Regions from separate parts of the Homo sapiens genome. Here region 1 is linked to region 2. The links are contacts of gene promoters, found by promoter capture Hi-C in human tissues and cell types (Jung and others, 2019). All regions are on one chromosome and are shown on one strand. Each heading gives the region's core, a stretch centred on a gene start or on the middle of the fragment in contact. The rest is flanking DNA. Distances are from core to core; before and after follow the strand shown.

The links. Contacts are between HindIII fragments. The study calls those that stand out against the background at their distance.
Region 1: a fragment that was not itself captured here is called in contact with the fragment with the promoter of EVX1 in region 2 in 3 of the 25 tissues and cell types used here (bladder, mesendoderm cells and thymus).

What each region holds. Positions count from the first base shown.
Region 1 is chr7:27,323,152-27,330,502 of GRCh38, reverse strand. No RefSeq gene overlaps it. Among named protein-coding and RNA genes, the nearest start is that of EVX1-AS, 80 kb to the right of the region's middle. The HindIII fragment of the contact is 7,067 bases long and covers 2,201-7,351 here.
Region 2 is chr7:27,241,075-27,247,857 of GRCh38, reverse strand. EVX1 (even-skipped homeobox 1) reads right to left here and starts at 5,056. Exons shown (of 3, transcript NM_001989.5): 1 at 4,401-5,056; 2 at 2,554-2,810; 3 at 28-1,972. The coding sequence starts at 4,827. The coding sequence ends at 1,433. EVX1-AS (EVX1 antisense RNA) reads left to right here and starts at 629. Exons shown (of 4, transcript NR_120507.1): 1 at 629-897; 2 at 5,848-5,943; 3 at 6,217-6,309; 4 at 6,408-6,429. RefSeq lists enhancers at 1,421-2,030, 2,031-2,639, 4,561-5,438. The HindIII fragment of the contact is 9,702 bases long and covers 1-6,478 here.

The sequences.
Region 1 (7,351 bases), core at 4,485-6,984, 82 kb before region 2:
TAGATTGGAATTTTCAAAATCATTCACTTCTAAAAATGTATCCAAGGATTTGCTTATACCAGATATACTTCTGTGTTTATGAACAACACTATGATGATATTAGAAATGTTTCATTTGGATGTTCAGCATGGGAGTGTGCTGCCTGTTGAGAGGGACTTTTCAGCATGCCACTTGGTATATATTTGGATTACCATAATCACAAAAGCCTAGCCTCTGTCTTTCCCTCAGCCTCTCAGCCTCCCTTTCTTTTCATGTATTCCTCTCCCTTACTGTTGATGGGTGCATCACTTCAAAAAGAAAAAAACAAAAAGCTTGAACCAGGAGGATTTCTGTTCACTTTGGCAGTTCCAGAACTCGTTATCCCTCAATTGACCACTGGAGACTCTGCTGCTATATATTTAAATCACCCTAGGCATTAGCTGGGGATGGATTTATCATGAAACTTTTATAATAGAGAGGGCTACAGGGAATAGAGTGCTTTTAAATGTCTCCTCTTCTGCAGGCAAGTGATAACTTCACTCTTTGGTGAGTCCCTGTTGCTTTACTATTACACTCAGATGTTTTCATTCCAAGAGGAAAATATTATGACTGAACATAAAGTTTTAGTATTTGAGATGGTTGGATTGCACACCAGGTAGCTGCATCTTTTTTCTGTATTTAATGTATTCTATGATCAGCTATATTTACTGCTTCTGATTCCAGCTGGTCCCCATGCTAAATGAAAAAAAGACTTGTAGGAAACCTACATAGTTTGAGTTTTAAAAAACTATTTTGTGCAAACTTCCATCCAGGATATAAATCCCTTCTACTGCATTCTTAACAGCACCAACCTTCTCAAATGAATGAGAATAGTATTTGGGATTTATGTGACATGCAAATTCAGGACTTGAACAAAATATTGACAACCAAGGGCTCTCCTAAGTGACAGAAGAGCCAAGGAAGCATGGCTAAAGTCTTCCCACTGCTGTCCTGTCTAAGTCAGAGTCTTTTAAAGAGCTTGAACAGCTGCAGAAGTTCTTCATGTGGGGGTAGAATTTTGGAACAACTGATGAGAGTGTGAGGAGCCATTCTGAGCAATTGGGAACACTCAGAGTCTGTGTGCTAATGAGAGACCCAAACACCAAGCACTCCAGGGGCTGTGGGTTGTCCCATATGCCACTGTGGAGGAAGTGGATGGGGCCGTGAATGCAAGGCCACGCAAGGAGGATGGAAGAGCTGTGGAACCGAAGACAGCTGTCTCAAGAAACAGTTCTCAAAGACCAGGTGCCCACTTAATTGTGAAAAAGATCTTTGTTGGTGGCGTTAAAGAAGACACTGAAGAACATCACCTAAGAGATTATGTTGGACAGTATGGGAAAATTGAAATATTGAAATCATGGCTGACCAAGGCAGTGGAAAGAAAAGGGGCTTTGCTTTTGTAACCTTTGACAACCATGGATAAGATTGTCGTTCTGAAATACCATCCTGGGAGTGGCCACACTGTGAAGTTAGGAAAGCCCTGTTGGAGCAAGAGATGGCTGATGCCTCATCCAGCCAAAGGGGTTGAAGTCATTCTGGAAACTTTGGTGTTGGTCATGGAGATGGTTTTGGTGGTAATGACAACTGTGGTCATGGAGGAAACATTAGTGGTTATGGTGGCTTTGGTAGCAGCTGTGCTGGTGGTGGATATGGTGGCAGTGGAGATGGCCGTAAGGGATTTGGTAATGATAGGAGCAATTTTGGAGGTGGTGGAAGCTACAATGATTTTGGCAATTACAACAATCAATCTCCAGATTTGGACCCGTGAAGGGAAAAAACTCTGGAGGCAGAAGCTTTGGTTCCTATGGTGGTGGAGGCCAATACTTTGCCAAATCATGAAACCAAGGTAGGTATGGTGCTTCCAGTAACAGCAGTCACTGTCAATGGCAGATTTTAATTACTGCCAGCAACAAAGCTTGGCAGGAGAGGAGAGCCAAAGAGGTGATAGAGAAGCTACCAGTTACAACAGATTTGTGAACTCAGCCAAGCACAGTGGTGGCAGTGCCCAGCTGCTACAAAGAAAATATGTTTTAGACAATGCTCACGTGTATGCACAAAAAGCTCAAGGACTGTATTTGTGGCAGGTTATTTTAGGTTCTGTTCTGTTCTGTTCTGTTCTGTTCTGTTCTGTTCTGTTCTGTTCTGTTCTGTTCTGTTCCTTTCTGTTCTGTGGAAAGTATAAAGCATTCTAACAAAAGTTTTTAATGTGCCCATGCTGTGGATTGTTAAATGTAATAGTCTGATCGTAACACTGAATACATGTCTTTTTTAAATAAATAAAATAAAACTCTAGCTAGACATAGGAAAGAAGACTTGAAACATATACACCAAAATATTGGCAATACTTATTTCTGAGTGGTGGAATTAATTTTTAATAATATTTGTTGTGAAACTATTTTTCTCAATTACAAAAGTAATACAGTATACAAAAATTAAGGGAAAAAGAAGCTTAAAAAGACTATGAACATTTTGAAGTATATCTTTCTGAAATTTTTAAAAATTAAATATAACTTTTTTCTTATTATAAAAATAATATCTATTCAATGTTGAAAATTTTAAAATATAGATAAGTTAGTAGAAAAACATTTATTGAATGATTTTTATTTTCTTTCTTTTGCTTATTTTTAAACTACAAGTTTTCAACAATGAGTATACATTGCTTTGGAGTACAAAAGAAAAAATGTATTGATCAGCTGGGCGCGGTGGCTCATGCCTGTAATCCCAGCACTTGGGGAGGCCGAGACAGGCGGATCACTTGAGGTTGGGAGTTCGAGACCAGCCTGGCTGACATGGTGAAATGCTGTCTTTACTAAAAATACAAAAATTAGCTGGATGTGGTAGCGTACATCTATAATCCCAGCTACTCAGGAGGCTGAGGCAGGAAAATTGCTTGAACCCAGGAGGCAGGGGTTGCAGTGAGCTGAGATCGTGCCACTGCACTCCAACCTGGGCAAGAGAGCGGGACTCCATCTCAAAAAAACAAAACAAAACCAAAAAAACAATGTCTTTGTGAGAGCTGAGGTACAGGCAGTTGGAAGCCAGCTGTGTGGGCTAGATCTGCAGATATTGGCCAGGGTAGAAATGAGTTTGGGCCTCCTGGTATATTTGGAGGCTTTCAATGGTTGCAGGTGAAAATGAATTATGAAATTCTCTGAGTAAATTTCATGAAGTATATCTGGTAAATTACCAATAAAACTTAACTGAGTTCATCTCATATCTGGAGACTTTTAAAGCTGCTATCATAAAACTCTACTGATGAAGGACTTTCTTATTGATTGCAATCATTATTGGCTCAGCCCACCCAACAAAAAAATAAATATGCACTTCAACCCTTGAGAAAACATATTTCAGAACCCCCCCAATTTTATGAGACAGGCCTAAGAGATGGAAGTATTTATTCAAAGTCCCACTGTGATTTTTCAGGAGGCCTGCTTCAATCAGGAAGAGCTCTGCAATCCAGAAAACTCCAGAGCAGCAGTGATTCATGCAACCTAGCCATAGTCATGTGGTCTGATTAAAAAGATGCTCCCAGGCCAGGCACAGTGGCTCATGCCTGTAATCCCAGCATTTTGGGAGGCTGAGGTGGGTGGATCACCTGAGGTCAGGAGTTCGAGACCAGCCTGGCCAAAATGGCAAAACCCTGTCTCTACTAAAAGTACAAAATTAGCCCAGTGTGGTGGCGCATGTCTATAATCCCAGCTACTTGGGAGGCTACTGCTTGAACCTGAGAGGCAGAGGTTGCAGTGAGCCGAAATGGTGCCATTTTGCACTCCAGCTGGACGACAGAGTGAGACTCCGTCTCAAAAAAAAAAAAAAGCTCTCAAACCCAAGTAGCCTAATTTGCTATTTTATACTGTATTAACATTGCACATCTATTAACTCGGCATACCAACTATTGATCTGAAAATAAAATTAGTCCTTGCTCTCACATAACAAAGAAGAATTGCAGTTTATAATGAAAGAAATGCTCATACTTATTTGCATAATAGAAATCATTATGTTTTCTTACTACAAAGGCACCTAATTAGCAAAGATTTTCATTTTCCACTGATGTCATGAGGGGCCAGTCACTATTCTAAGCATATAGCTATCCCTTAGGTACATGAAAATTTGCATCTTGCAAATTCCTTTTGAGATAATACCTTAGAATGAAGTAGAATGCAGATTTGGCATGAGATTTTGATGGAGAGAGGATAGAGAGGTCTTTTAAGTAGTGATGGTGTTCTTCAGGAACCAACCAGGGAATTTTTCAGTCTCCCTAGATCTACTCCACAATTTTTCACTCTGCCTAGATAAAAACCTTCTTAGAATTCTCAGCATAATAAATAGGATATTTTATATTTTTTCCTACTGCTCTGGAGGTTCTCATAGCACATCAAAATTTTAAGATATACTAAATATAATCCCAGAAATTATAGTATAATTAGATTTATAAATACAATAAATTTGAATTAACTGGGAACATTCAATACTGGTAAAGATGTGGCAAAATATGTACTCTCATACATCGCTGATTGCATGGTAAATTGGTACCACCCATTTGAAAAACAATACAGTAACTTAATAAATGTTAAATATTTTTGACCCAAAGATCCTCCTTCTGGAACTCAATCCTATTATATCAGACCAAAACTGGAGGAAAAGGCTATGTGTGAAGATGATCTTTAAGGTACCATTTCTGGAAGTAAAAACTGAAAATGACCTAAGTGTTAAATAATTAGGGCATTCCTTTACTTATAAGCAAAAAGTTCAAATGCTTACTTGGCAACAGATAGCAGATGTCAGAAGGACCCTTTTACTTCATCCATTATGATTGTCTAAAATATTACCAAATAGGGTTAGATGCATGGTATCCAGGAGTTTCCTATTCAAATGCAATTCTTTAAAAAGAAAAGAAAAGAAAAGAAAAGAAAAACCTAAAACCAAAAAGACCTAAAAGAGCAAGATGGGAAACATAAGTCCAGCTTTATCAATAATTACATTAAATGTTAATGAATGGCTATATATATCAAAACATCATGTTGTATACCTTAAATTTTATACAATATAAAAGGTTAATGAACTAAACACTCCATTTAAAAGATATTATCAGAATTGATCTTTTTTTTTTTCTTGAGATGGAGTTTCACTCTTGTTACCCAGGCTGGAGTGCAATGCCGTGATCTCGGGTCACTGCAACCTCCACGTCCCCATTCAAGCAATTCTCCTGCCTTAGCCTCCCAAGTAGCTGGGATTACAGGTGTGCACCACCACACCCAGCTAATTTTTGTATTTTTAGTAGAGATGGGGTTTCACCATGTTGGCCAGGCTGGTCTCGAACTCCTGACCTCAAATGATCCACCCGCCTTGGCCTCCCAAAGTACTGGGATTATAGGCCTAAGCCACCAAGCCCGGCCTAGATTTGATTTTTAAACAAAAACAACTCAATGTCAACTGTATGCTGTTTTCAGGAAACACACTTCAAACATAAGGCCTTAGAGATACTGAAAGTAAAAGGATGGAAAAACATCGTTATGCAAATTCTAATAATAAGAAAGCTGGTGTGGCTTTATTATTAGACAAAATAGACTTCAAGACAAGAAATATTATCAGAGATAAAGAGAAACATTTTATAATGATAACAGAGTTAGTTCATCAGAAAGACCTTACAATCCTAAATTTGTATATGCCTACTCACATAAACTTTAAAATATATAAAGCAAAATGAATAGAACTAAAGGAGAAATGAATAAAGCCACAATCACGGGTGGATAATAGACTTTGAGTCATAACAGATCACTGATAGTTTAGCTCGTAATCATCTCTGGATTGGCTAATAACATAGCCCAGAAAGAATGGGACACACACACACACAAATCTCCTTTGATTCTGGGAGAAGGTGAAGGACAGGCCTCAGATTTATATGGCAGTGAGAAATTGGTGGAAGTTGGGCCAACAGGTTAGTTCTAGGGCCATATGGGAGAGAAAGTCCAAAAGGAGAACTGATGACAACAAAGGGGTGGGGGGAGGTTTGAATGGAATTAGGAAGAGTATGACCTCAGTTTCAATACCCATTTCAACACTTATTCAGTAATCCTCAACCAGTCACTAAACTTCTAATATTTTGGCATTTTAAAAAATGGAGGAAATGATTTCTGCCTTATGTGTGGATATGGGAGTTAAACACATAATACATGTGAAGAGTGCTGGCAATCCAATATCTCCCCTCTTTCACACTGTTTCCTGATAGGGACCCACATACTCAAGATTTCTGCAAATAACCAGGAAATGAATTGGACAGGGATCCCAAGATCTAAATCACCGTAGAAGAAGGAAAAATAACTTACCTAGTCCCAACAAGGTATGGAGAACCCCAAAACAGCCCAGTCTCTAGGAGGCCTGGCTACTCTTTCCTTTGGCAAAGTGAAAACAGCTCCATGATAGTTCTTAGTTTCCTTCAATAGAACCTGTTCTAGTGTTCTCCCTACGGATCTACATGCATGTGCTGTCTCAAGGAATTAAAACCGTCTCAAGAAATTTACTAGAATTTTAATTACCCAGACCCTTTGGCGGCCATCAGTTCATTGACTGACCTCCAGACAAGACCTCATATAAAATTTCCCTCAAAGATGGATCTCTTTCTTCAAAACTTGCAGAGAAAGCTAAATTCTTCCCTCCTTCCTTGAAAGTACATTTCAGTGTCTCCTTTTCACAGGCAGAAAGTTCTTCCTGCCTTACCTAAATAGCTATGAAACAAGGCAGAGTCCTATAAAGCTGAAACAGAGTTACAATGCACTGTAGAGGCTGAGGGGAGGAAGAGCCTTTACAGGCTTTGGGAAACAGGGACAAATTATAAAGCGGCATTTATTCCTGGCCTTATAGAATGGGCAGGGTTTTGGCCCATGTGAGGAGGGGATTGCAAATGGATCAAAAGCTGGATAGGGAATGCAGAGCCTGCTGGAGAAGGACAGATGATGGTCAGGGCCATGGGGAACAGGAGGAAGGAGAGAAGGAAAGGTGACGCCATATTGTGGAGGACCCCACACACCAGAAAGAAAACTGTTGGCTTTATTTGGTAGGTAATGTGGCGCGATGTGGCGAGAGGGGGTTTGCAGAAATAGGTGGTGAGAGCTGAATTTCAGGGAGATTGATGTAGCAGAGAGATTCGAAAGGTGGAAGAAAGAAGTGGGGAGAGAGGTGAAAGGTCAGTTAGGAAGTCCTTTCAACCATTCAGAAAAGAGTTCCTGAGAGGCTGAATATTGGTGAAAATGCTGGAAACGAAGGTGAGAACCAGACTGAGGCCTTGAGCACAGAAAGCCTCCTAATTCATCTGTATGGACAGGGCCTGACTCTC
Region 2 (6,783 bases), core at 3,807-6,306:
CTGCCTGCTGCCACAAAAACTAAAATGTAAAGTGAGAATTATGTCCAGCTTTTATTGCAATATGGTTAACGAATCATAACAGCAAGTTCTTTGGGCTTCAAAGGAAAACCCCAAATCAAACCAAATTCATTCCCTACAGGAAGAACCACTCCCTCTCAGTCAGGGTGAAGCTTGCATTGGGGTTACACGTTCTCCTCTTCCTCAAAAACTGGCTGCAAGGATGAGTGTGGGAGTGAGGATTTGGGAGTGGCTCTAAACAAACCCTGGTGGAGGCCACAGACAGGGTCCCCAAAAGGGACAGAAGGCTCCCACTGGTATCTGAAAGTCAAGCTCCAGTGGTAGCTTGGGAAGAAAATGAGAGAAAGTTGTAAAATACCCAATGCAAAGGGTAGGGCCAGAAAGTTCCTGGTGAAGTGAAGGTGAACAAGCAAAGGATGAAAATTGCCTCTAATTTACCGCCAGATACCGAGAGAGGGAGGTGAAGTTCCCACTCCCTAAGCTCTTCCCTGGGCGCCTTGTTAACAGCTCAGCTCTGGGGTCAGTGGCCAGCTCCATGGTGATCATTATTACACATTCAACATTCACAAACCCTCCTCGCACACATCACTTGCTAATCAGGGTGTGTGCTGGGCCCAGGGAAAAAAGGCTTGGCCTCATAGAAGCGGCAAAGGGCTCCTGGGGCATCTGCAGCCTCCCTGGCCAACAAAAAAGTGGGGGCAGGGAGAGATGGAGCCGCAAGTTGAGAAGTGTCACAAAGCTGGGAATGAGGAAAGAGATCAGGTGCTGGCAGACGCCAGACCCAGAAGATGCTGTGTAGTCGAGGCTCCAGGTCCCATGCCAAGGGGCTGGATTCTCCCTGGTAGTAAATCATCTCTCACTCTCTCCTCCAAATGACTGGTATGTTGCCATCCACCAGCCCCTTGTCATGCCTTGGAAAAGCTGGCAAAGATTAATCTCTACCTGCTCTGCATACACAGCATTTTGTTCAGAGAGACAGCAATTTCCCTTTCCAGTGCTTGGGCCTTGGCTGGGGAGAGGGGGCCCGGTGAGAAGGGAGTGTGAGGTGGAGGGTGAGGGGCCGAGGGGCCGAGGGACTGGATATTGGTTGCTGTTGCTGCTAAGTTTTGTTTAGCTTTGGAGCTACAGCCTCGACCCTGGTGGGGGGCGGTGGGTCCGGAGGCTGCCCCGGAGGAAGGTCTCTCAAGCTCTGCTTCCCTATCCCCACTCCTGCTCCCCAAACGCGCCAGCCACCGCCACTTCCTAGGCTTTCCAATTCTTGCGGCCGGATCCCGCTGGTCCTTTTCCGCCCTCTCCTTTCCCCCTTGGCGTCCTAGGGGCGAGGAGCGAGGAGCGAGGAGCGAGGCTGGCTGAGTCCCGGGGCCGGGGGGTGACCCCACGGGCGTCATGGAGCCGGCAGCCAGCCGGCGGCCCCTTATCTAGTGAGGGGCACCTCCTCCCTCTGGTCCAGCGCGACGGAGGAGGCCTTGCTGAGCACCGAGGGCGCGAAGGTGAGGAAGGAGTCCGAGCGGGAGGTGGAGGCACAGGTGAAGTCCGAGGCGGCGGCAGCCCGGGGCGCCAGCCCGTTGGCCGGGCCGCTGTGACAGGCGAGGCAGGAGCAGGGGCCGCCGGCAGAGGCGCCCAGTCCGTGCGCGGGCCCGGGGTAGAGCGGCGGGTGGCGGAAGGCGCACAGCAGTTCGGGCCGCGGGTAGGGCTGCGACAGCACGCGGAACGTGTCGAGCGGGCGCAGCGAGCCGCTGAAGGGCGAGGCGGCGGCGGAGGCGGCGGATGCGGCGCCCAGGCCCACCGGCGAGTAGTAGGGCAGGGGCAGGTGCGATGGGAAGGGGTAGGGCAGGCCGCCCGCGGCCGCCGCATGGCTCATCATGTAAGTGTAGAAGGCGGGGTCCGCCGGGTGCGGCCACGTCATGGCCAGGCGCTGCCGCTTGTCCTTCATGCGCCGGTTCTGGAACCACACCTGGGGAGAGGAGCGGAGCAGGTTCAGTAGCTGGACTTGGCCCGATGCTCAGAGGCCAGTAGTCTGGTCCCGCTCCGGGGACAGTGTTCGCAGGGCAGGAACAGCCAAAGCAGACACCAGCCGGGTAGAGACCGACCCCACCACCACCACCTGGAGCTGGAATCCCTCCGAGAGAGGTTTGGGGAGTGACTCCAGCCCGCTCCCTCCTTCCTTCTGCCCAGGTGGCCAGGCCCCCGGGGTGCCAGAGGCCAGTGTGTGTATGGGAGGAGCAGTGAAAGGACATGGACTCAATTGGTCTGCGGCCGCAGAGAGCGTGTCCCCAGAAACTTCCTTGTCACCCGCACAGGCACTCTATCCCCTTCCCCCACGCCCACCCCTTGTCTATTTAACCAGGAAAGGGACAGAGTCAGCCACATGGCAGCAATGCCTGCCTAGGAGCTGTCACGAGGGTCAATCTGCACGCGCCGGGCAGGGAGACCCCAGGCCCAGATTCCTGGCCTGCGTTTCAGGGAGTTGGCAGTTGGCATTTACTTCCCGCTAAATAGGTGCACACCCGCCTCCCCAGCCTGGACCCCGCATACCTTGATGGTGGTTTCCGGCAGGTTTAGGGCGGCCGCCAGCTCACATCTCCGCGGCCTGGATACGTAGTTCTCCCGGTAGAATTCCTTCTCCAGCCGCGCAATCTGCTCTCGGGTGAAGGCGGTGCGGTAACGACGCATCTGGTCACTGGCGCTGCACGCCAGGGTGCCTTGCGAGCCGCCCCCACCACTGCCGCCGTTGCTCTTGGGGGTCTCGCTCCCTCCGTTCGGACTGCCGACCAGCGCCTCGGAGCCGGACCCTGCACAGCGAGTCCAGAGCACAGGCGTGTACAGACACAGACACACAAACGCCATTGAAGTGGGGCTGTAGGCCTAAGGTGGGAGGGTGATTTGGGAAGGGACACCCTGTCAGCCACCTCAGTAACTGTTTCTGCTAGGGTACTGCGGCCTCTGGGGAACCCAAGAAGGGAAAATAAGGGCCTGCCCTTGATTGGGTAGGTAGAGGTCTTTGGGGAGGCCTTCCCTTCCTCTAAGGCATCCTGGGTACAGGGGTTCCCAGCCGCCCTTCCCACCTGCCCTGGAGCATAGGTGAGATTTCTGCCTCCCGTTGGCAGGGCGTGCACTTCTGACAGGCACATGAGTTGAGATGCACCTTTGTGCTAGAGGGTTGTAAACTCTGGGTCAAGTGCATTGTAGTATGCTGGGCATTCAGAGAGTTTCCTTGCTCTTATGTGTGACGGGCTGCCAGAACAGGTGTGGGAATGTGTACTAGGTTCCGTGTATTGCAGGGCTGGAGTGAGAATGCATGTTGAGTATCTTATTTATTACCTTAGTATATGTGAGTGGAGTCCAGGTTGTTCTGAGGGTTATGGGAAGGAGGCTGGGTGAAATCGGTGATAAGATAGTAAGGGGTAGGTGCAGGTATTCAACAAGGCGTTGGCTGCCAAGACCAGGGGGTGGTCTTTCTCCCCCCCGCCCCCAGGCTCTTTCCACCCACTCCTACAGTTCTGTGGAGGAGTGTCTGCTGGTGGGCTCCCCTCTCCTCCCCCCCACCAACCCGCGCCCAGTTTTCTACCCCCTTCTGGGGAGGTGATTGTTGGCACAGAGGGAAACTCCCTTCCGGGCTATCCACCCCTTTCCCATTAGCCTTTGGTGGGGAGGGGTTCTCCAGTTAAACCAGCCCCCCTTTGGGCCTACCTCTGAGAAGGGTGGGGCTCCAGCCCCCTGCAGCTCCTTTTCCTTTGGGTGGAGAAGTGGGACTAGGAAGGAAAGGGGAAGGGGGGAGGACCCGATCTCTGCCTTTTCAAATGCAACCGGAGACCAAAGGCAATTAGACCATTGGGACCATTTCCGACCTGGCGCCGCGAAGCCCGGGAAGTGACAAGGTAATTTGGACCTCTGACCGACGTGCAAACTGGTCGGAGGGCTGCAGCACCCGGGCTGCCCAAGTGGGCCGCAATTTTACGGTCCTTTATGGACTCCTGGCTTCCGCGCCTCCATGCCTCTTACACCCTGCCAGCCACAAACTGCCCGGATCGGCGTTTGATCTTGCCCTCGCCTGGGGAAAGTGTCTTCCCCGAGCAATTGAAGCATTCCCCGAGCAGTTGAAACACTGGGTGCTTGGGGTGAGCTTCGAATCCCCCAAGTCCAGGACTTGCATCCGCCCCCTCAGCACCCCGCACTCAAGGCACTGCTGTCACCCTCAGTCCCGCCAATGCCAGAACACAGTAGGAGACCCCCGCCAGAACGCAGATAGCAGAGAGAGTTGCTCAGGTGGGTCCCCCCAGCCATCCTGCCCTAGGGGAAGGGAGTGTCTTCCTCCTGGCCTGCGCCGAAGTGAAGGGTGGGCGCAGTGGGAGGCCCGGGGAGCGGAGGGGCACGGTGGCTACCTTTGCTGTGCTGGTACTCGGCGTTCCCGGTGGCGCAGTCCGGGGTGCAGCTCACCTCGATTTCTTCATAGAAATCCGACTCGGTGTCCGAGCTACTGGGTTGCCCCTGTCCGGAGAGGCTGTCGACTGAGGGGGCCGGGGGTCCTGGGCCGAGCATGGCCGCCCCAGCTACCTGGGGCTCGGCGCCCGGCCCCGCCGCGCTGCCTGCGAGTCCATCTACCGGCTCCTCCTCCGGGCCTCCCCCGCCGCGCTCCCGGGTGGCCGGAGGGACGGCCCGAGGGCTCAGGCAACCACGGGGCACCATTTTCTCGGGCGGCTCCGGCAGCGGGCTGCCCACGGCTTCGGACAAATTTGAGACTCTCTTGCCAACCAGAGTGCCAAGCTGACCCCCATCCAGAAACACAACCATGTCCTTTCGGCTCTCCATCCCGGGGCTCTCCGGTGGGGGAGGGGAAAGCCCCAAGTGAGTTCCTAACCCCGGCTCCCTGGGTCTCCAGCGGCCGGACGGATCTTGGTTGCAAGAGGGAGAAAGAAAGGCCGGGTGCCTGGGAGGGCGCGGAGCTGCTGGAGCGCGGTCTGGACCGCGACCGCGGCGGTGGCGGTGGGAGCTAGGGTCACCTTGTGAAGCGAGCGCTCCTCTGTGCCGCACCGCCTCTGGGAGGAAGCCCCATTGCCCTCTTCTTTCTAAGCTGTCATCCTCCTGCTGCAATCGTCATTACAGTACCGCTGGTGACGCCACTCGGCGAGCGCAAGTGGATAAATAGAAACGTCTGCCACAGCGAAGATGAAAGGAAACCCGCAGCTAATGGCTCGGCAGTGATGCGCCAGGTGTGGGCCTCGCTCGATTGGGGAGGAGAGTGTGAAAACAGACAGAGAGACACACACACTGAGAGAGGGAGACACCCAGGCAGAGGGGATGCAAATGGAATTCCGCAGAAAGAAAAGAGAGCTTAACGCGCGCGGCGAGTTCCGCAGGGGCAGCGGGACTCGGTAATTAAATAAGCTTTTGATTTTTTCTTTTATTGTTGTTTTGACTTTTGTTTTCTTAACTTGGTGCCTTGATCTAACACCGATGAAAGAATCCATAACTGCATTTTAGAAGTGTGAAGCCCGGCTTACAAGCCTCAATTCTGTCGGCATTATTACAACTGTCTGCCCCTGGCAGCTAACCTCAAACTGGCTGAAAAGTCTTTTTACAAGCTACGGAAAAATGTATTCCCCCGCCCCAAGTTGACTGGAGAGCTTGAGGCTGGGCCATCTTTTCCTCTTTTCTCCTCCCTCTCCCTACCCACCTCTGTCTCCTTACTCCTGCGAACCAAACTTTGCTATTTTTCTTCCCTAAGGGGCAAGAAATAAATACCTTATTATTATTTTTTAATTTAAAGACCCGCCTTGGCTTCTGTAAGAGTGTGTGCTGATTTCTTTTAAATACCTCCTTCCCATCTAGATGGCCTTAAGTTTTCCACAGCCTGGCTTCATCTTGAGATGGCTATTCGTACAAGAAGTCGCTTTCCCGTTTGCCTGGACCTCGCCTGCACTCCAGGTATGTTGGGTGGGGAGAGTTTCTAAGAGTTGTCTTTTTTTTTCCCTTGCCCATATTTTAAAGTATTCGTTCAGAATCAGCGAAGTCTCCTGGAAAGAGGTTTTTCGAATGAAGAGGCGCCAGGAATGCGGCCCCTGCTGTGGCAGTACTGGAGGCCCCTACTTGGGAGAAGGCAGTAGCTTTCACCGCGCTATTTTGGGCAGGGGTTCAGCCTCCCCGAGTACAAAAAGGTTGGGGTTCATAGAGGTTTGACTCATAAGGTCCTCTCCCAAGTCCCTGCCTAGGGGCAGTGGTACCTGTCTCCAAAAGTGGATGGCGTTTGAGGTAGAAGAGAGTGAAGTCGCTGAAAATGCCCTAAAACAGCAAGTAAGTAGGGACTCTGATGAAGGGCTGGAGGTGGGGGCAGGGGTTGTGGAACTTAATATCTGGAAGCTGCCATAGGCCTCTCTTGGCTCCTCTCCCAGGGAAGAAGCTGGTATAAAACTCCTTCAAACTGACCCTTTTTGAGCTCCAAGCAAGTGTGCTGGGGCCAGGTGGGTGGGCTGAGTCTATCCCCACATTGCTGAGAGCAGGAGGTGGGCACCTTCTATGCTCAACCCCCCTTTCTCCGCCTCCTCCCGAAGAGCTTCTAGCCCTAGGCAGCCAGCTGCAAAGGGCAGCCCAGCACCTCCCTCCTTTCTGTGTCCCTAGCAAAGCCCCAGCTTTTACAGGTAAGTCCTCTTCCGTGACCTTTTTATCTGTTATCTCCTACTTTTCTCTCCTCCTTTTTCTCTTTCTGTATTCTTCTCCTTCTTTGCTTCTCTCCTCCATCTTCCTATCCATAGGGTTAAGGAAGGTAGA